7 separate regions of the Homo sapiens genome follow, and all the other regions are linked to region 6. The links are contacts of gene promoters, found by promoter capture Hi-C in human tissues and cell types (Jung and others, 2019). All regions are on one chromosome and are shown on one strand. The core of a region is centred on a gene start or on the middle of the fragment in contact, and the rest is flanking DNA. Distances in the headings are between cores, read along the strand shown. Region 1 overlaps LOC107983974 (a long non-coding RNA gene). Region 2 overlaps LINC01580 (long intergenic non-protein coding RNA 1580). Region 3 has its middle 47 kb from the start of LINC02207. Region 4 overlaps LINC01581 (long intergenic non-protein coding RNA 1581). Region 5 overlaps LOC107983974 (a long non-coding RNA gene). Region 6 holds the start of RGMA (repulsive guidance molecule BMP co-receptor a). Region 7 has its middle 21 kb from the start of LINC02207.

Region 1 (3,030 bases), core at 297-2,796, 550 kb before region 6:
TGATGTTTTATTCCAGCAGCTTTTACAAATTAATGTAGTGTTCACAACAGCTGTACATGTTGGCTGAGCAACTTTTTGCAAAATTAAACAATTGCTTATGCAAACATCACTAGCCCATCAAAACAACACCTACATACATGCAATAATTAAGTTTAGTTGTATTGGATATTTTGTCAACTTTGAGTCAAATAAAAACATAGCTGCGCACATATTTCATCAAAATGATGGCATATTTGTCAAATTTGTTACTGTAATATATAACTTGTTGATAATCAGACATATGGATTGTGGGACTCTATCTTCTTGCCCCAAATGTTCAGGCCAACCCTGCACCTTGAGGCCCAGATATCAGCTACATCAACTTATTCTTAGGAAGAAATATCAGGATCCTCAAGTTTGGACCATTCTTTCGTTATTGCCTTGAGGAAATGAATTTGTACATTATGATGCTGTTGACTGCCAGAAGCTACAGAAGTTCCCTGATATTTTAGGAAAGATGCATTAGGCTTCTGGATTCATGTGATTATGAGCACGATGCATTTATACTATTACACCAGTAGCTGTAATTCCTTCCTGACAAGTTGGTTGTGACAACAGTTCACGTATACCCCAGTTCTACATTTATAATTTTTGAGAGTGTTCAATTCTTTTTGCATCTCCTGTGTACAGCTCTCATTTGTTATTTTGCAATTATGATTTTGTGTAACTGATTCAACTCCCAGAAGACAGGGTCTTCTTACATGTGCAGAACCTGATGTGTATGACTGTGTTTAATAAAATTTCTTACTGTTTGTCTTTCTTGAGAAAAGAATGAAGACATTTGTTAGAGGAAAGTTCTTAATCTTTGAAAAGAGATTACAGCTAATCAAGGGCTCTTCAGCAATATCGGCTTTTTCCCAGCTTTTTATTTTCATTTTATGGTTGGTGTTCCACAAACACACATGAGTAACAGACACCTTGGCAGCAGCCACCTGCTCTGGAGAGTGACATCTGTTCCCTACTCTTAAATTTCTTTATCACATCAAGGTTTTATTTCTTATAGCATTTAGTTCACAATTATTTATTTAGCATCTACTAGGTGCTCTAAATTGTTTTACTTATGCATTTACTTGTATGTTCAGCCAACCTTTTTTTGTATGTTCAACCAACATACAAATAAACGTATAAATAAGATAACTTAGAGCACCCTAGTTGATGCTAAAATTTATATTTATTTAATTTATAAATACTGGTTGAACCAATATTGTATATTTGTTCCTCATTGTTTTTCTTCCTCAGTGGACTCAACTCCATGAAAGTAGAGACCTGTCTGTCTTACTTACTATAAGACCTTCAGCACCTGGAAATAGCAGGTGTTAAATATACCTGTACTGAATGGATGAATGTGTAAATATGTATCTACAATCTCAACAACTGATTTTTTTTTTTGGTATTTTTCCCCTATTCTTACTTTAGTCAAACAATACCAAGGAGTAATACCTATTGGTTTTAAAACAACAACTACCCAAAAAAAATGTTTGAAAGGACTCTGAAATTAGCCCTTTCTTGATGGTAATTGATGGACTGGCGTTTTCAGTTTTTCACCTCTCATTTCTCTCCTAAGCCACTCTTCGTTCTAATATAGACTGTACACTGATGCGTGCTCCTGCAGCGGGTGCTGTAACTGCTCTGGGTACGATACCGCAGGGCCCCTTTCTCCCAGCAAAATCTGTGTCCCACAGCCACACATTCATTCTTCAGAGCCAAGAAGAGGATTTTTTTCAGTCAAATTTCATTTGCTTGGGATAAATCTCATAGGCTATTAAATCTGATTTGCTGATCCCTGCTAACAGAGCATTTGAAGAACCATCAAAAGGACACTGAAAGTGTCACAGGTATTACAGTAAGCCCTTGATAGTGGCTTTTAGTGTGTTGTATGACGGGGAATGCAGTCCAAAGATAAGAATAGGCAGACAGGGAGGAATCCAGCCCAATCGAGTTCATTTCACACATGTACAGCCACTGACATGTCTGCAATAAGACTAGACAATGCCGTTGTTGGCAAGCTTGTTAGAACTTTTTTCACATAACAAACTCTAATTAGTTTTTGGTGTATCTTCAGTGCAACTAAGCAGATGAAAGAAAGAACAAATATGGGTTGATTCTGAAGGAGCTCTGTTCTTTAAAAAAGCATACCCATGAAGCAGATCAATATCAGATCAAAACATGCATGAAAGAAGGATTCACAGTAATTTCATACAAAAATAGTTGGAGGAGGAGGTAAGCAACATAGTCCAAAAGCTGTTGTCAATCCCTTTCTCCTTTCTGTCTTCACAACTAAAAGGAAAACTGTAAGTTTCTTGTAAGCTCTCTATTAAACCAGAATGTATTTTTCATGCAAAATGTTAAACCTCCAGCTAATGCTTGGTGCATTTTTCTGACACAAGCAAGCCTGACTTAGGACAGGAAGCACTAAATAAAAATAGCTCTGTTAGGCCGGGCGCGGCGGCTCACGCCTGTAATCCCAGCACTTTGGAAGGCCGAGGCGGGCGGATCACGAGGTCAGGAGATTGAGACCATCGTGGCTAACATGGTGAAACCCTGTCTCTACTAAAAATACAAAAAATTAGCCAGGTGTGGCGGCATGCCCCTGTAGTCCCAGCTACTCAGAAGGCTGAGGTAGGAGAATTGCTTGAACCTGGGAGGCAGAGGTTGCAGTGAGCCAAGATCGCACCACTGCACTCCAGCCTGGGCAACAGAGCGAGACTCTGTCTCAAAAAAAAAAAAAATGCCCTGTTATATACTATCTGTGATCCTGATGATGTCAGAGCCAAGATACAGAAAAACAAGGCTGGAGACACTGTGCCACCAGCAGAATACACTCTCCTGCTTCCAGGTAAAACGAGACGCAAAGAAAGCCATCCATTTCCTGGAAACTGCTGTTCTAGAACAAATGTACATATATAGGAAATGCCCTGGAAAGAAAAGACAGGATGTAGTGGGCACATTTACAAGGCATGTCAAATGTAGCTCTCAAAATGATTGGATGGG
Region 2 (2,708 bases), core at 136-2,635, 870 kb before region 6:
TTTTGATCCAGAACTCTTTCACTCTTGTTGTCTAGGCTGGAGTGCAATGGTGCAATTTCAGCTCATGCAACCCCTGCCTCCCAGGCTCAAGCGATTCTCCTGCCTCAGCCTCCCAAGTAGCTGGGATTACAGGCGCCCACCACCATGCCCAGCTATTTTTTTTTTTTTCTACTAGAGGAGAGGTTTCACCATGTTGGCCAGGCTGGTCTCGAACTCCTGACCTGACCTCAGGCGATCCACCTGTCTTGGCATCCCAAAGTGCTGGGATTACAGGCGTGAGCCACTGCACCCTGCCTATATATATAAATTCTATAATAATTTGAGACAAATATCAAGCCCTCCTCCTTCCATAATATCTTTCTTCTCTACTAGAATAAACCATAATTTCCTCCTCCTCTGAATTTCTGCACTTTCATACAGATATCATCAACAGAGAGTGAGCCTTCTTAGCTGGAGGTGTTTGAGCATAATCTCTGGCCAATTGTTGACTGAACACTACCAGAGCACTAAGATTCAGGCTGAAAAATAATAAATAAAGGAACAAATAAGTGAATAATTTCTAAAAATAAGCAGAGCAGGGACATTCGCGGCCACACCAGGTAGGGGAGACAGAATTCACAGATTTAATTCATGCATGTTACAAAAGAAAACAACAACCCTCAGAGAGAAAAGGACTCAGAATCCAGAACTGACACAACATATTATCTAGAATGTCTCGACTTCAAATAAAAATTATAAGGTGTGCAAAGAGACAAAAAAGTGTGATCATATTTAGAGGAACAAAACCTGTCACTAAAAGTTGTCTCTCAGTGTCACCGGTATTAGATTTGTCAGACAGTGACTTTAAAACAGACAGGTTCAATGTGTTCAATGAATTAAAGGAAACCGAACATAAAGAATTAAAGGAAAGTATGTTAATAATTATTCAATGGCTCGGCTGTCTCAATAAAGAAACAGAAGTTATAAAAACGAACCAAGTGGAAATACAGGTTGTATATAGCAACATAAGGATACAATGTAAGGTTATCTAAAGCAATAATTATGGCAGTGCCTTGTTGGGTTTATAACATGAATATACACATGTAATACTGCATGTGAAAACAATAACACAAATAAAAGTGAAGGAGAAAGATGGAGTGGATACGAGTTTCCATATTTTACCAGAATTTAGATAAAAATTATAACCGTAATAAAAAAAACTAAGCAGAGAGGCTCTATAAGAAATTTTATACAACAGAAGTCACCAAACTATAAAAAAGATCAATAGAAAATACCACGTTTAAAGAACACAGAGAAAAAAAAATGAAGAAAAATAAAGGGAGTCCTAAATACCTGTGGAATAGCTTTGAGTATAACAATTTAGGTGTAATGTTATTTCTAACAGCAAAGGATAAAAAAAGGAGAAGAAAAATATTTCAAGAAGTGATGGCTGAAAACTGTCCAAATTTGATGAAAATCATTAATCTGCAAGGAGCACCGATAATCCTCCCAAAAAAAACACAAAAATATTCACACCTAGATACAACACAGTTAAATTCTTAAAAGCCAAAGACAGAGAAAAATCTCAAAAGCAACGAGAGAAAATACAGGGGAATAAGAATAGATATAATAGCTAACTTTGTCAATCAGGGATTCTAAACCAAAAAAAAAAGTTTTTGTTTTTGTTTTTGTTTCTTAATGAAGGTGAAATACAAACCTCTCCAGACAAAAGCTAAGATAATTCATCATTTGGACACTTGCATTATCAAATTTGTTTTTAAATTACTAAAGGAATTTTGTAAATATGTAGGTAAATATATAAGACTTAATGTAAAGTATTTTCTCTTTTTTCTTAACTTCTTTAAAAGACATAAGGTTGTATAAAGTATGTTTATAATACTGTATTGTTAAATATGTAATATATCTATATCTATCTGTCTGTCTATAATACATGTGATGATAACACAAGAGCAAGTATAGGAAAAAGTATATATAGTAGAGCAAAGTTTTAATAGTTGATCAGAAATTTGTTAGTATTATTTTGAAAGATACTGTGCTAATTTCAGATGCACACTATAATCTTTATAGTATCTACTAAGAAAATGAAGAGAAGTATGAAAATGGCACACTGAAAATATTTATTTAACATAAAGGCTGGCAGTAAATCAGAAACAGAGGAAAAAGAAAGACATGGGATAAATAGAAAACAAGTAGCAAAATAGCTGATATAAATCCAACCATGTCAATAATTACATTAAATGTGAAAGTACCAAACTCTGCCCTTAAATAGCACAGAATGTCAGAATGAGGTTTTAAAAATTCATCAATGCACTGTCTAAAAAAGAAATATGCTTGATTTTAAAATACAGGTTGGAAGGAAAATAATTTAAAAATATAAATCATGTAAACAGTAACCATAGAAGTGCTAGAGTGGCTACATTATTATCAAATTTAAAAAAACAGGAAATATTACTAGAGGCAAAGAGGGTTACTTTATAATGATAAAAGGCTCATTATATTAAAATGATTTTAAAATTGTAAATATATGCATACCTACCTCAGAGCTCCAAAATACATAAAGAAAAAAAACTACAGACTTGAGAAAAGAATTAGAATTAGACAACTTAGCAATAACAGTTGAATATTTAAACCAGCTAATCTCAGAGATTAATAGAAGAGCTAGATAGAAAATCAGTAGGTGTATGGAAAACTCAATTCTAGCAATCAAT
Region 3 (2,799 bases), core at 296-2,795, 720 kb before region 6:
ACGTACCAGTTAGGATTTTGGAGGAATGAGATATGTTGACAGCATGTCATGTTCCTACCATAGCTCCTGTATGTAGTTGGAGATCTATAAATGTTACCCTTCCCCTCCTGAAACATAGAGGATTGAGAAGAACTTCATAGAGGAAGGAGCATTTTAGTGGAACTTTAAAAGAAGTTCTTTTCTTGAAGTTGGAAATGGAGAGAATTCCATGTAGAGGCAAGAATTAAGCAAATTCAAATGCGTATGGAAGTAACCAGAAACAATAAGTATCATGTTGCAGGATACATCTAGAAATAGTGAGAAATGACTCTTGTAGGACAGGCTGCAGGTACTTTGTAATGAAAGTATCTCTTGCAATAAAGCAATCTTAATCTAACTTTAGAAGGATGAATTTTTTTTACATTCTAACAATATAGGTAATATTCTAAGTCCTTTCTTAGTACTATGAACATTTGTATTTGGAGATTTCTATTTGCCTAAGAAAATGAAGAACTGTTCTTTAGGATTGAGCAAGTCTATTCTGCAGTAAGGCAAATGACAGCCTTTTCAGGTCACCTTTCCATGGGCTTAGGTCTAAAAAATTGCAGCAATTATATCATTTCATCCCAAGATTGTTCTTTTTCACAAAGCTTGCTGCTGATGGGGAGATATGATTTCAAAAAATTTGAGACAGAATGAGTACTGGACTAGCACAGAGCAGGACCTAGCAGTTAGAAAGTCTTTAGTAATTTATTTTCTTTGACATAAAATTAATTGATTTTAGTCTTGCTCTAGCAGTTGTGGCCCATCCCTGCTACTAATTGTCTAAGTGCCTTTGGGTAAGTCTTGCAAAAATTCTTTAAGCCTCACTTTCCTCCTTTGGGAAAAAAAAAAAAAAACTGAGATTATAATAACAAAGATGCTGAGAGGTTAACATTGGAGGAAATATATGAAAGAACCAAGTCTAATCTCTGGCCATACAGAGCAGATAGATAACGAAAGGTGATTGGCTCACGAAAACTACAATCCATGATTCCAGGGTCAAGCAACACTGTGGATTGGAGCTCCTATTAGACCCCCTATGCCAAATCGCAACCAGATGGTCTTTAAGGATTCTGCCAAGGCAGTACATTTTCTTTTAATCATTTTCTTCCTTTTTTTTTTTTATTGGAGCTTAGTGATGAGTGTTCTTTATAAATTTATTCTTTCTGACCTGGCTCAGAGAAAGGAAATGAAGTAAAAATAACATAATACAATAAAAAATAACATAATAAAATTAAAATGTTAAAAATTAAACAAAAAAATAAAAAAACATACAACCACCTCTTCATTCTGTTGGGAAGATTTGTACCCTGGCCTCTATTCTCATCTGTAGAATGGAGAATATAATCAGGTGGGTGTCCAAGCATCTTTCCAGCTCTAATTCTCTGAACCACATTTTATAGTAAACAAGACAGGTACAGTTAACTCTTGATCAGCATGGGTTTGAACTGTGTGGGTCTACTTATATGCAAATTTTCCTCCACCTCTGCCACCCTTGAAACAGCAAAAGCAACCCTTCCTCTCCCTCCTCTTCCTCAGTCTACTCCATATGAAGATGATGAAGATGGAAGACCTTTATGATGATCCACTTCCACTTAATAAATTGTAAATATATATTCTCTTCCTTATGATTTTCCTAATAACATTTTCTGTCATCTAGCTTACTTTAATTTTAAGAATACAGTATATAGGCCGGGCGTGGTGGCTCACACCTGTAATTCCAACTCTTTGGGAGGCCAAGGCAGACGGATCACCTGAGGTCAGGAGTTTGAGACCAGCCTGGCCAACATGGTGAAACCCCATGTCTACTAAAAATACAAAAACTAGCCAGGCATGGTGGCATGTGCATGTAATCCCAGCTACTCGGGAGGCTGAGGCATGAGGATCACTTGAACCTGGGAGGCAGAAGTTGCAGTGAGCCGAGATCACACCATTGCACTCCAGCCTGGGCAACAGAGCAAGACTCTGTCTCAAAAAAAGAATACGGTATATAGTACATGCAACATACAAAATGTGTGTTAATCAACTGTTTATATTATCAGTAATGCTTCTGGTCAACAGCAGGCTATTACTAGTTAAGTTTTTGGGAAGTCAAAAGTTATACATGGATTTTGAACTGAGGGGAATCAGCAGCCTTAATCCCTGAGTTGTTCAAGAGTCAACTGTAAGGGAGCCAGAGGAGATGTATTCACATCTTTTTCTACCTCAGTTTATGTATTTTAAAAAATTAAATACATTTGAAAATATATTTTACTTTTTTACTTTAACTGTATGGTTTTCATCCTACAAAAACACTTTGAGGAGGGACTTGCAATCTCCACTTGTTTTTGAAAAAGGAATTGTGGCTCAGAGAGGTTAAATGACTTGCCTAAGGTCACACAGGGAATGAGCAACAGAGCAGAAACATGTATGCAGGTATTCTGATCAAATGTTTTTTTCTTTTTTTTTTTTTTTTGTCTTTTTTGAGATGGAGTCTCACTCTCTTACCCAGGCTGGAGTGCAGTGGCACGATCTCGGCCCAGTGCAACCTCTACCTCCTAGTTTCAAGCAATTCTCCTGCCTCAGCCTCCTGAGTAGCTGGGATTACAGGCACATGCCACCATGCCTGGCTAGGTTTTGTTTTTGTTTTGTTTTGTTTTGTTTTTCTTTTTTGGAACGGAGTCTCTCTGTGTTGCCCAGGCTAGAGTGCAGTGGCGCGATCTGGGCTCACTGCGACCTCCACCTCCCAGGTTCAAGCGATTCTCCTGCCTCGGTCTCCCGAGTAGCTGGGACTACAGG
Region 4 (2,700 bases), core at 192-2,691, 930 kb before region 6:
AGGAGGCTGAGGCAGGAGAATCTCTTAAACCCGGGAGATGGAGGTTGCAGTGAGCCAAGATTGTGCCACTGCACTCCAGCCTGGGTGGCAGAGCGAAACGCTGTCAAAAAAAATAGTGAAAAAGAAAATTCATAGAGATAGAAAGTAGAATGGTGGTTGTCATGATCTGGTGGGAGGGAAGAGTGGGAAGTTGTTTAATGGGTATCAAGTTTGCAAGACAAAAAGAGTTATGGAGATGGTTGGAGGTGATGTTTGTACAACCATGTGATTGTACTTAATGCCACTGAACTGCACACCTAAGAATAGCTGAGATGGTAAATATTATGTTATGTTTACTTTACCACAACTTTAAAAATTAAAATAAAAAGCTGAATAACAATATTAATTTCTTTACTTTTTTGTTGTTGTGTTGATTAAATGGACTAGTGTCTTCCATAATTTAGCCCAGTGCTGGGCACATACATACCAGCCCAATAAATTGTAGGTATCAAAAAATACAAAAATAAAAACAAAACACCAAAAACTAGCAATGGATATTTTTTGGATTCACAACTCTTGGCTCTGAGCTAAGACTGTTAAGGCTGAAAACAAGCTTAAAGTGTTCCCCAAACCTGGAGCGAGACAGCAGTTACGGGCGAGCCATGGTGAAGTCCTCAGCAAGACAACACTCCATCTTAGCCAAGGTGAGTGTGTGTTTCTTATAGTTCAGACAGAATGCAAAATAGCAAGTGGTGACAAAGAGGACAAGCAAGGTGCCTTAGGACGTGCCTGAGGGGAAAGGTCAGAAGGAAGTCCTCTGGATGGTGTCCCACTGTGGCGGGAGGTCACTGGGTGTGCCTGAAGTCCAGTCCTCAGAACACAGCCCCTGACGCTCAACCAGGCAGTAAATTTCCCTCATTATAAATGCCCTTCACAGTCCTTCACTCACTTGGATATGTCTTTTCCCTGAAGCTAACAAGCTTGGCAAACTTGCTCTTTTTCATAAAACATGGTGCCACTAGGAATATTTAGGAAAAAAAAAAAAAAAAGAATGTTTCCTAAGCAGCTGAGATGGTTGAGTACCTGTCAGGTTTGCAGGGGTCATCTCACACCGGGATATGCCCAAGCCCAGCTGAGGCTACCTAAGGTCGGGCAGCAGGAATCTTTCTCAAGGGGCTGGGTTAATTTGCTCTTTCAGTTCACTTGCACCATCCCTGCAAATCTGGCCATGCTCTCTTCCTAGTGATCTAAAATATTCCAGTTTTTAATTAGTTCCAGGCCAGTCAATGCGACTGCCCCATCCACACAATGCATTTGTGCCAATTCAAAGTCTGAAGCCGATGAACTAATACAGCCAACTGAAGACCTGTTGAAGGAGGCAAATGGGGCCGTGCTGCTGCTGGAAAATTTGCCTGGAGTGCCTGCCAGCCCCTGGGGCCCTTTCCAAGCCAGGCCTGAACCACAGGCCTGTTAGGAAAGGACTGCTGGATTCAGCCCTTACCTCTTCAGAAACCAAAGGGTAATTAAAGCATGGGATGCAAATTCCCCACAATATGGGGGATGTGTCCTATGATCTATAACATTATTGGCCCAGCACATGTTAACAGAAGTCATGAGCAAAATCCACAAAGGCCCAGCAGGATGGAGAAAAAAATTAATACAGGTACAGTTCCTTCTAAATATGTAGCCTCATTTGCCCCTGAAATACAGAGCCAAGCCATTTGAGTCTGCAGCTCCGTTTCACCCTTTGCTTCTGTATTGGATAGCTTTAGGGAATTTTACATCCAAAATTGTCTCTTAATAGTATTGCTTGGCATTTCTTAATTATGAAAAGGAAAAAATTCATATATCACATATATGTGTAATGTATGCTTGTGTATATGTGTGTATACATATAATTTGAGTTTGAATTAACATATTTAAATTCTGTATGTTTCTTCATATTACATTTTAATACAACACTAATGTGTAAATCATAACCCCCAAAATAAAATAATATGCATCTGGTAAAATTTCTCATGTCAGCCAGGATTATGTTTGCTACAATTCAATTCAGGTTTTATTAGACACACCGTGAATGTTAAACTTTCTCATTTTAAGTGCTCTCTAAAAACACACTTTTCATTCATTCATTCATTCATTTATCCATTTGATGTATATTTCTTGAGTATGTGTAGCCACTATGTGTCAGGCTAAACCTACCATTTAGCAGTGAACAATAAAAAATTCATAGATGAAACTCCCTCCTTCATGGAACTTATAATGTCATGATATTATTTACCTTCTTTTTTAAAAAGAAAATAAATGCATCCCGAATACTGAAGATTCTCAAGTGATTATTGCTAATTGTCATATGGTCATCATTTCTCTCAGCTTTTAAATCATATTTACAAACTCGGTGGGTGATCTTTGACTTTGACAAGTCCTCAATGTCATTGTCATATCACAGTGGAAATGGTATTGACCCCACACCTCTGCCATACTGCAACTCAGTGACTAATCCCACAAAGACCCTCTGGGGCTCATAATGGTTGGATCACACTTTTCATTCAGGAAGTATATGCTTTCCCAGCCTGGCATGGATACAAATTTTGGTTGAGATAGTAGGAAAAAGCACGGTCATTTTCACTGAACTGAATTAAAAAAGCAGTCACAAGATGGTTGGGTGCAAATCCCTCTGGGGGGAGAAAAATGAAACAGAGACTCCTTGTGTCTCAATGA
Region 5 (3,026 bases), core at 27-2,526, 620 kb before region 6:
TTGTGACTTGAAGTTTGACAAATGAAGAGGAATTCATCAGCTAATGGGGAGGGAAGGGCATAGAGAGCAGGGCACGTAAAATAATGATTCAGAGATGAAAAAGTACATAACATCATCAGAGAATGGGGAACAATTTATGTAGCGGAAGCCTTGTAAATTGGAGCCCGATTCTGAAGAATCTTGAATGCCATGCAAAGCAATTTGAGCTCCAAATATTTTTAGCCAACCAGGTATAACCTTTATTTTTTTCTGGTCCAGTTAAATCTGTTAATACCCACAGACAGCAGAACACTCAGCATATTATAGGTCACTTGATTAATCCAGTGTAAGCCATGCTCCATCTCCACAATGAACAATTAAAATACATAAAATGGTTTTATGCTGTGGGATAAGACTCACTCTTTAAAAATTTTCTAGCTAGTAATCAGGTATACCAGGGGACAAAGTTGATTCTCTATCCTTGAGTTCTTAGGGTGTTGAGACAGTTTCAGGCCAGTCTTGTCTAGACCTGTGAAGCCAACCTGTATGACCACTCTAGTCTGTTCTGGAACTCAGGATTTTTATGATTGTGAAATCTTGCAGCACATTTAAAGGACAAGCTGACAATAAATTGCTGGAGTAAAACTAAAACAATGCAAGGATTTCATTTCATATTTATGTCCACCTTTACGGTGCTTTTAAAATCTGTGACTTTTCCTTTGCTGTGCAAAAGCTTTTGCAGCACCTTGGCATCAGGCAAAAATAAGATACCTTTTGTGGTTCCCTAACTAATAATTTTATCAGCCATTTAGCAATTCAGCTTCAAGCTTCTGCAATATACTTGCTAACCTTTAATTAATAGGAAGCCTTTACCTTTATTCTCACAATGAAAGATAAGATCATTGTCACATGTCAAACAATAGAAAGTTAATTCTGTTTGTCACTGTTTTCTGTTAGAGTGAATATTGCATTTCTTTCCAAGTAGAATATTTATATGGGAATAATTTTACAGCTACATATAACCACAATCTTTCTTCAAAATGATGAATTTCGAAGGCCAAGACTTGTATGATAAAATCTCACTATATAATTTAATGATCTAGAAGAATGGTTGGACCGTTGTTGAATTTATGGACTCTTTGTGTATTAAAAAGTAGACATGAGCTCAGACTTCTCCAGTGATGAATAGGTACAGGGGCATGAACAGCAACTATTCATATAAGGTCAGGGTCTCTTCAAATCATTCCATCTTTGGGTCAAGATGTACACAGACTATTGCAAATTCTCTCATCACCTATTAAAAATGTAAACACTATGAGGTGGTAAAGCCCATTGCTTAAAAGAAAAGTTTCATGGCTTCTTGCCCTTAGCCTGCAGACCTCTTGTGGGATGATGTAGTCCTGGGCACAAACTGGCTTTTAATGTGATGTAGGTCACACTTCAAGCAGACTCGGGAGAGGCCCAAGGGCACGGGCTATCTTTCACTGTGAAAGCTAGGTTCAGGCTTGATAGCATGACCAGCATGAATGACTATGGAACTTTGGGCAAGAACAACAGCCAGCCATGCGCAACTGCACCTGAGAGCTGTTTTAAATTCAGGGATACTGTCCTTGACTTTGAGAAAATATCAGATCCCTCTTTTTCATTCCACGATGACTTTCTTTTTTTCTTTTTTTCTGGTGAACAGGGTGAAAACAAAGTAACATAACACTGCATCAAGATGCGCAGCTTGTGAAAGAAAGAGCCAATAAATCAGATGATTTGCTGTATCTACACAAGGTCAAATTGCAAAACAGATTGACTTTTCTCCACTAAACCGTCCAGCTTGGGACTTATAACAGCTGAACGCTTGGGGAGTTATTTTCAGTCTTTACAACAGAAAATAATTAAAACATTAAATCTCTAAACAGGCTGAAAATAAAGTAACCAAAGACCAAAAATCAAAAAACCAAAAAGCAAACACCAACAAATGTCCTCTCAAATGGTACTTAAAGTAGAATTTTCTTCCTTATTTTTGTAACTTCAACAAAAGGTATCAGGAAAGCTGTGCAGGTAAGTGAAGTTTGGACCAAAACCAAGGGAAATACAGGTAAGATAAGCAAAGTGAATATAATAGAACTGGCATTTATTACGCAGCAAGCATGTGCCAATGAATATGCCAGGTCCTCCACATAGTATCTCAACTTTACACATACAACAGTTCCATGAGATGGATATTTTAATCTTTGTATTACAAATTAAAACTTGAAGTATAGCAAAGTTATATAATTTATGCAACAATGCACAGATACTAAGGATTCAGACGCAGCTGTGGGAAAGCCCTTGTTGTTTTCCCGGGGGTTTCATGCTGCCTCCTCCATCATCTTGTCATCTGATATCCAATCCCACTCTCATCCCAGTGTCCAAAACCTAAGTGAGCACAAATTGCAAATGATTGTTGGACTTTAAGCTTCAAAGGGGGATGCAGGAGAGCCAGAGATGTGGGTGGGTGGGGTTGCCGAGAAGATCTACTAAATGCAAACTCCATTTCTCATCTGCCAGGTTACATCTGGCCAGCATCCAGCGACGCTTTCCCCCACACTCTCCCTCTAACATTTCACAGGACCCATCTCTGAGCCCTTGCCAGAGTCCTTTGCTCCTCCATGAGGCCTCTACAGAGCACAGTCAGCTGGGGCAGAAAAGGAGGTGAGGGAATGGAGAGACTGTGCTGGGTTCCGCACACTGCCAGCGGGCTAGAACTAAAGACATTTTCATGCTTACCAAAAATCCCAAACTTTCTCAAGTTTGGTTAAAAAAACAAATTTGAAGAAAAACAGAATCCCTGGAGACAAGATGACTTGTTTTAGAAAATGCTTTCAGAATTTATATTTTTCAATAAATGAACCAAGAATTCTATAAAGCAAGACTTTCTCAAACTGAAAGGAATGCCCCACAACGTTAGCAGTTTTATCTCTGGGTTAACAAAAGCACTAATTATTCTTTTCCAAATGCTGTCAATTTTATGTTTTCTAAAATGAGGACTTATTGTTATCCAATGGAAAAAATAA
Region 6 (3,048 bases), core at 29-2,528:
TGACTTGCCGAAGGTCAGAGCTAATTCTAGAAACCCATCCCCAATCCCTTCCTGCTAAACCACTTAATTTTATTTATATCCCAGCTATAGATTATACAAATACACTTGACAAATAAAACGGAGAATATTGAGTTAAAACCACATCTCTGAAGACCACACGCATAAATAACGATCGTGTTTTAATGCGGACGATACCTTTTCATTTTGCAAATCCAGAGTTCTCATCATATCAAAATTCAAGACAGTTTGTTCTGTAAGAAGGGGAAGGTCATAACCCTGTCTAGAATGTACTGGCAAATCTCTCTAACCGTGCAGTGCTAATTTGGGCCTGAGCTGTGTAACCAGACCGACTTCACGCTCCAGCTGGGGTTTCAGATCCACACATGGCGATTGGGTGGCTCTTTGCTGTTTCACAGCAAGGGTCCTTCCCTGGGCTCCCGGAGCCTCTGGGGATTTACTGCTCCCGACGTGGCCGTGTTCAAGCCACTGTGTGCATGCGCTTAATGTTGAAAACATTCTTTTGAAAAGCCCAGGAGATTCCACTCGCAATCTGTGCGTGTGCATGTAAAAGCGCAGAGACTGGAAAGAACCGCGGCAGAGCACACCCTGACCGAAGGTTACCGCGGGGGAGCCGCGGCCGTGGGAGAGCCGCGGCCGTGGGAGGGAGTGCGATACGGTCTTTTCACTCTAGACACTCCTGAGTTATGTACAATTCTACGCAAGAATGTATGCGTGTGTTAGCATGTAATACATATGTATTAGTTTTTTCAGGAAGATTCTTAAACAACAACAAAATCTCTATAGAACAAAGGTGCGTCTCCGCAGAGCGCAACAGCATTTGTCTTGGATGTAACCGCCTTCTCCAGAAATCTCAGAGGAACTCCCCTCGACCACCGCCTAACTGAAGGACACCGTGCGCTCCACCGCAACCCTGCGGGCGATTCGGAAAGTTGGAGGCGCCCCGGGGAGTCGCCGCACTTGCCGCCCGCGCCCCCTAACCTGAGCATTCAAGGAGTCTTGACTTGGCCGCTGGCGCACTCCGCACCCACCCAGCCGGTGCTGATGCGGGAGGGTGGGGCCGCGGCGGGGCGGGGCAACGCGAGCCCGCACCCCGCTCCTCCCCGCCCCTCCCTGCCGGCCCCGCCCGCGCGCGCCCCCCGCCCGCGGCCCGGGCGCCCGGCCCGCCCCCTCCCCTCGGCGCGCAAACGAACCTCGCGACGCCGCGCTCGGCGGCGGGCGGGGGCCGGGCGAGGGAGGGGGCTGGTCCCGGCCGCCCCACTCTGCAGTTGTCTCCCGAGCGCTGGCTGCGCCGCCCGAGCCGCTGGGCCGGGGAAGCACTGGCCGTTCGCTCCCGGGCCGGCTCCGCCAGGCGCTCGCAGGCATGCAGCCCGGGAGCAGGAGGCGCTCCCCGGGCCGCTGCTGAGCCGGCCGGGGCGGCGGGGACCAGCGCCAGCGGAGCCCCTCCCACCTTGCCCCGGGGCAGACGAGCGGCGCCCCGACACCCCCTCTTCTCCCGCAGCCCCGCCAGCGCCACCCCCCGCGGGCCGCAGGGGCTCATGCAGCCGCCAAGGTAAGCGCGGGTCGGGAGCCGGGCAGACCCGGCTCTGACATCTCCGAGGCGCCGCCGACACATGCCGGGGCCACGGCGCTGCTTTGGTCTTCCTTAGCCCCGCGTCTCATCTTGCTCCCATCTTGCCCACATTTGGAGCTTTGCTGCGCCTCTATCGCTTTAGCTGTTGGCAGCAGGAAAGTTTTTGTGGTTTGGTGTTTGTTCTTTTTTCCTAAAATACTCTCCCCCGGGCAGCCGCCAGCGCGCGTGGTTGGGCAGACCCGGCACACGTCCCTTACACCGTGTGCGGGCTGGGAGCTCCTTCCCTCAGCCCGGCTCGCGGAGCCCCGGACGGAGCCGGCCACCCGACTGTCCCGCCGTGAACCCCCATTGGCCCGCGCCGCCCGGGCCCCCGCCTCCCGCTCGACGCCCGGCTGCGGAGCTGCCTGGCCATCTCCTGCCCTCGGGGATGTCGGCGCAGTGCACCGCGTGGGCTCGCGTCCCGGCGGCCCTTTGCCTCGGCGCGCCGGCGTACGGGAAGGTGCGGACCTTGGATTGAGGGCCGAGGATGCCCATTGCCAAGCCGCCCCGGCTTTCCTAAGTGGACGGGAGGGCACGGCGACGATTCAGCGCCGGCTCGCGCCGCAGCTCAACCCAGGGTACAAGCCCGGGCATGGGGGACAGGTGTATTCAATGGGAGGGCGGGTGTGGGGGACGCTCGGGTGCAATTCGGGATTGCGTCTTATTAATGTAATTGTATTAGACTTGCTCGGAGGTAGAATCAGTTCTCCCAAATTGAGATTTCTAATGGGAGCCTGTGAGCTGCTATTATGTGGTGTGGTTTTGGGAGGTGTTGGGTTGTATTTATTTTATAAATTGGGTGTCTCGCGGGCGGAGTAGGGGAAGTAGCGCCATCTAGCGGAAGTGGTGAGCTGTGCATTCCTCTTAGGCTGCGAAGTTGTTGGGTGTTCTCAAAGTAGTCTCCCGCACAAGGTGGAGAGGCGGGAACCAGCCCTCGCCTCCAGGAAGGAGGCTACAGAAGCTCTCTGAGTATCGACGGTACCAGGGAGAACCCCGACCTCCCATGCTCAGCACATTGAGCTCAGGGGACGAAATTGCGGGTCGTGTTGAGTGGCATGCTGTCACCTAAAGGAGCTCCATCACCTTCTCTGTTTGGTTTTAGACTCTTCCAGCAAAAACGTAATATAAAATGTTAACTGCTGTAAGAAGATGCCCCTTCCGCAGGTATCTGGTGCAGAGATCTTGAAAACCAATGCACAAACCTCTGTCTTCTCCTGTGCATCACAAACGGGTGATTTCTTGGGTGGATTTTGAGCCATGACCCCTAGAAAAGAGAGTAACTGTGCTCCGAAGGGCAACAGGAGGAGAACTGGGAGAGGGCCTCCTGCCCATTTGTGCAGGAACAGAATAGTGTACCCAAACTGGGTTTTGTGGTTTTTTTTTTTTTTTTTTTTGCACATACAAAGAAGGGGTTTCTT
Region 7 (2,888 bases), core at 172-2,671, 750 kb before region 6:
CAAAGCCCTCTCTTGTGGCAGAAATTAGCCTCTGTATAGAATCTCCTCTTACTAGGTCTTTACTGGATCCAGAAGAGATTTAACTGAGATTCCAAAACCTTTTAATGTCCAAAGAAAGGCATTTACCATCCTTTCTCTCTGAAGCCTGCTGCTTAGAGGTTTCATCTACGTAACAAGAACCTTGGCTTCTACAGCCTTCCCCATCTTAACTCAAGCATTTCTTTCTACTGAATTCAACTTTTTCGACAAAGCTTAACTCTTTCAAGCAATTACCAATCAGAAAATCTTTGAAATTACCTGTGACCTGTAAGCCCCACCCCCGCCAATTGCCAATCTGCACTTTCTGGGCTGAACCAATGTATACCTTACATGTATTAATTTATGTTTTTGCCTGTAACTTCAGTTTCCCTAAAATGTATAAAACCAAGCTGTAACCCAACCATCGCAGGCACATTTTCTCAGGACCTCTCAAGATTGTACCCCACGCCATGGTCAGTCATATTGGCTCAGATAACCTCTTCAAATATTTTACAGAGTTTGGCTTTTTTCATCAACATCAAACATAATTCTCTAAATAAGTTTTATACAGAATTTCCCAAGGTTTAATTCACTGTAAGAACACAGATTGAAATATAAAGCTTCTCTCTCTGAGTGGTGACATTACGGGCAATTCTACTTTTCCTTTGCATATGTATTTCTCAAGTTTTCTGCAATGATATTGCTTACAAGAGAATGACAGAGGAAGGAAGAATGGGAGGAAAATCAGATAACTTCAAACCTCACTATCTAGTACTGCTCAATTCTACCTTGGTAACTGAAGCTGGACATCCATTAGTATATTTTCCAAATATGCTTTTGTTGACAAGACACAAATTAAAATGTGACTATAAACTGGCATGGGAATCTGCACCTCAATTTTAATAGCAAGAAGAAAAACAAGGCGTTGAGCAAATGAAAGAGCATAAACACAAGGAAACATAGGGGAAAAAACAACCCCGGGAAGAGCATGGCAGAAATAATGGGACTCACCAGCATCCATTCCAGTCTCTAAGTCTAAACCAATCATAGCAGTTTCACCCGCTGTGTGTGACTGGTTCAGGAACGGGTCTCTAATCCCATTCTGACCTAAGAGACTGGAGTCTACCAGCCTGAGGGTGAAGATGACTCCCAGGCTGGCAGAGCAGAGGCCTCTAAAAAGCATGATGGTATCAGGAAAGCTCTGATCAGCCACTGCATTGTCTGCCCCTCTGTGATGTAAATAATGCTTGCCATCACTATTTGAAGCCAATTTGAGGTGTGTGTTCTGCTACTTACTACCCAACATGCCTTATTTGCACAAATGGCCATGCAGACTTCCTCTTCTTCACAATTTTACCTAAGGAATGAACTTATTTTGCAATCCTGTCACACTAGTAATCTTTTCTTTTGAAAAAAGTGGGGTATTGGTTACTCTGTCATGATGATTTGTGCCCTATTTTTTGTATTTGTCCTTTTTCTTCAATCTTGCATATGCATCTTGTTATGACATTCCACCTCCTGATTTTCTTATGATTGTTCATTGCGCATGGTAAAAACATAACAGTAATTTATTGCCTGTAACTGAAGAATTATGTACATAAAGCACACATTAACATGTTAACTTATTAGGACTAATATAGTCAATTAAAATGGAAATGTTCATTTATTCAAAGGATCATGTGTCAATCTTGCTTTGGAAAAAATACTGGCATGAAATCTAGCAATAAAGAAACACACACACACATACACAAATATTAACCACTTAATTAGTGCATTTATAGTTTCCTTGACAATCTTAAAATTCTGAATTACTTAGTAAAATACAAAAAGTACAAAAAATGTAAAATTTACTTGTGTACCAGAATTAACAAATATTAACATTTTGCCAATTTTTATTTCAAGCACTTTCTATTAAAAAAATAGGAGATTAAGGATGAAGTTGAAGTTTATTCCTCCCACAACTCGTTTCTCTATTTTCCTTCCTAAAAGTATCATGAAGTTTTTAAAAAATGTTTTAATATACACATTCATCCCAATGAACAAATTATAATATCACTTTATTTCTCCTTTTCTTCTTTTTAATTTTAATTTTTTTAGACAGAGTCTTGCTCTGTCGCCCAGGCTGGAGTACAGTGGCAAGATCTCAGTTCCCTACAACCTCCACCTCCAGAGTTCAAACAATTCTCCTGCCTCAGCCTCCCAAGTTGCTGGGATTACAGGCATGCACCATCACATCCAGCTAATTTTTGTATTTTGAGTAGAGACAGGGTTTCACCATCTTGGCCAGGCTTGTCTCGAACTCCTGACCTCAGGTAATCCACCAGCGTCAGCCTCCCAAAATGGGAGTAATGCCTGGGATTACAGGCATGAGCCACTGTGCCCAGTCCCTTTCTCCTTTTCTGATGGTTGTACAAAAATTCTTTCTATAGCGTGGATACGATCTTAAATCTGCTACATGTGTTGTAAATACATTCTCCCAGCCTCGTCTTTTAAATTTGATTATAATGTACTTCTTTCTTTCTCTTCTTTCCTTTGTTTTTGTTTTGATAGGGATGCTTTTCATTTGATTTAACTTATTTACCTTTTCATTTGTGTCTTGGGTTGTTTCTGTCTTAAGAAATTTTCTATTTTAAAACTATTTCGACTTTCATATTTTCTTACACATTTCTAGAGTATTTCCCTTGGGATTCGTGTGTGTATGGATATGTGTTTATTCTAAATGTCTTTTTGTAAAGTATTTTAACTATGAATTTATTGTTCATTTTTAATTTAACAGAATTGTGATCAGAGTATATAATGTGTATGATATTAATACTTTCAGTTTATCAAATTTTTTTATGGTCTCATGTGGTCAATATTTATTTTAAAAG

What was found. The method cuts DNA at HindIII sites, captures the fragments that hold promoters and counts their contacts. A contact is called where the count stands out against the background at its distance.
Region 1: a contact is called between a fragment that was not itself captured here and the fragment with the promoter of RGMA in region 6, in 2 of the 25 tissues and cell types used here (aorta and stomach).
Region 2: a contact is called between a fragment that was not itself captured here and the fragment with the promoter of RGMA in region 6, in 1 of the 25 tissues and cell types used here (mesenchymal stem cells).
Region 3: a contact is called between a fragment that was not itself captured here and the fragment with the promoter of RGMA in region 6, in 1 of the 25 tissues and cell types used here (dorsolateral prefrontal cortex).
Region 4: a fragment that was not itself captured here is called in contact with the fragment with the promoter of RGMA in region 6 in 1 of the 25 tissues and cell types used here (H1 embryonic stem cells).
Region 5: a contact is called between a fragment that was not itself captured here and the fragment with the promoter of RGMA in region 6, in 1 of the 25 tissues and cell types used here (hippocampus).
Region 7: a contact is called between a fragment that was not itself captured here and the fragment with the promoter of RGMA in region 6, in 2 of the 25 tissues and cell types used here (H1 embryonic stem cells and dorsolateral prefrontal cortex).

What each region holds. Positions count from the first base shown.
Region 1 is chr15:93,641,277-93,644,306 of GRCh38, reverse strand. All of the region lies in intron 5 of LOC107983974 (a long non-coding RNA gene), which reads right to left. Among named protein-coding and RNA genes, the nearest start is that of LINC02207, 210 kb to the left of the region's middle. The HindIII fragment of the contact is 6,025 bases long and covers 1-3,030 here.
Region 2 is chr15:93,959,603-93,962,310 of GRCh38, reverse strand. The region is part of intron 2 of LINC01580 (long intergenic non-protein coding RNA 1580); the gene reads right to left. The region is part of intron 6 of LINC01581 (long intergenic non-protein coding RNA 1581); the gene reads left to right. Among named protein-coding and RNA genes, the nearest start is that of LINC01580, 60 kb to the right of the region's middle. The HindIII fragment of the contact is 4,793 bases long and covers 1-2,708 here.
Region 3 is chr15:93,807,976-93,810,774 of GRCh38, reverse strand. No RefSeq gene overlaps it. Among named protein-coding and RNA genes, the nearest start is that of LINC02207, 47 kb to the left of the region's middle. The HindIII fragment of the contact is 5,514 bases long and covers 1-2,799 here.
Region 4 is chr15:94,022,353-94,025,052 of GRCh38, reverse strand. The region is part of intron 2 of LINC01581 (long intergenic non-protein coding RNA 1581); the gene reads left to right. Among named protein-coding and RNA genes, the nearest start is that of LINC01581, 84 kb to the left of the region's middle. The HindIII fragment of the contact is 3,224 bases long and covers 1-2,700 here.
Region 5 is chr15:93,707,390-93,710,415 of GRCh38, reverse strand. The region is part of intron 5 of LOC107983974 (a long non-coding RNA gene); the gene reads right to left. Among named protein-coding and RNA genes, the nearest start is that of LINC02207, 150 kb to the left of the region's middle. The HindIII fragment of the contact is 3,561 bases long and covers 1-3,026 here.
Region 6 is chr15:93,087,441-93,090,488 of GRCh38, reverse strand. RGMA (repulsive guidance molecule BMP co-receptor a) reads left to right here and starts at 1,278. Exons shown (of 4, transcript NM_020211.3): 1 at 1,278-1,570. The coding sequence starts at 1,557. It overlaps LOC101927025 (a long non-coding RNA gene), which reads right to left and starts at 1,275. Exons shown (of 5, transcript XR_007064769.1): 1 at 1,212-1,275. The HindIII fragment of the contact is 13,871 bases long and covers 1-3,048 here.
Region 7 is chr15:93,833,856-93,836,743 of GRCh38, reverse strand. No RefSeq gene overlaps it. Among named protein-coding and RNA genes, the nearest start is that of LINC02207, 21 kb to the left of the region's middle. The HindIII fragment of the contact is 3,321 bases long and covers 1-2,888 here.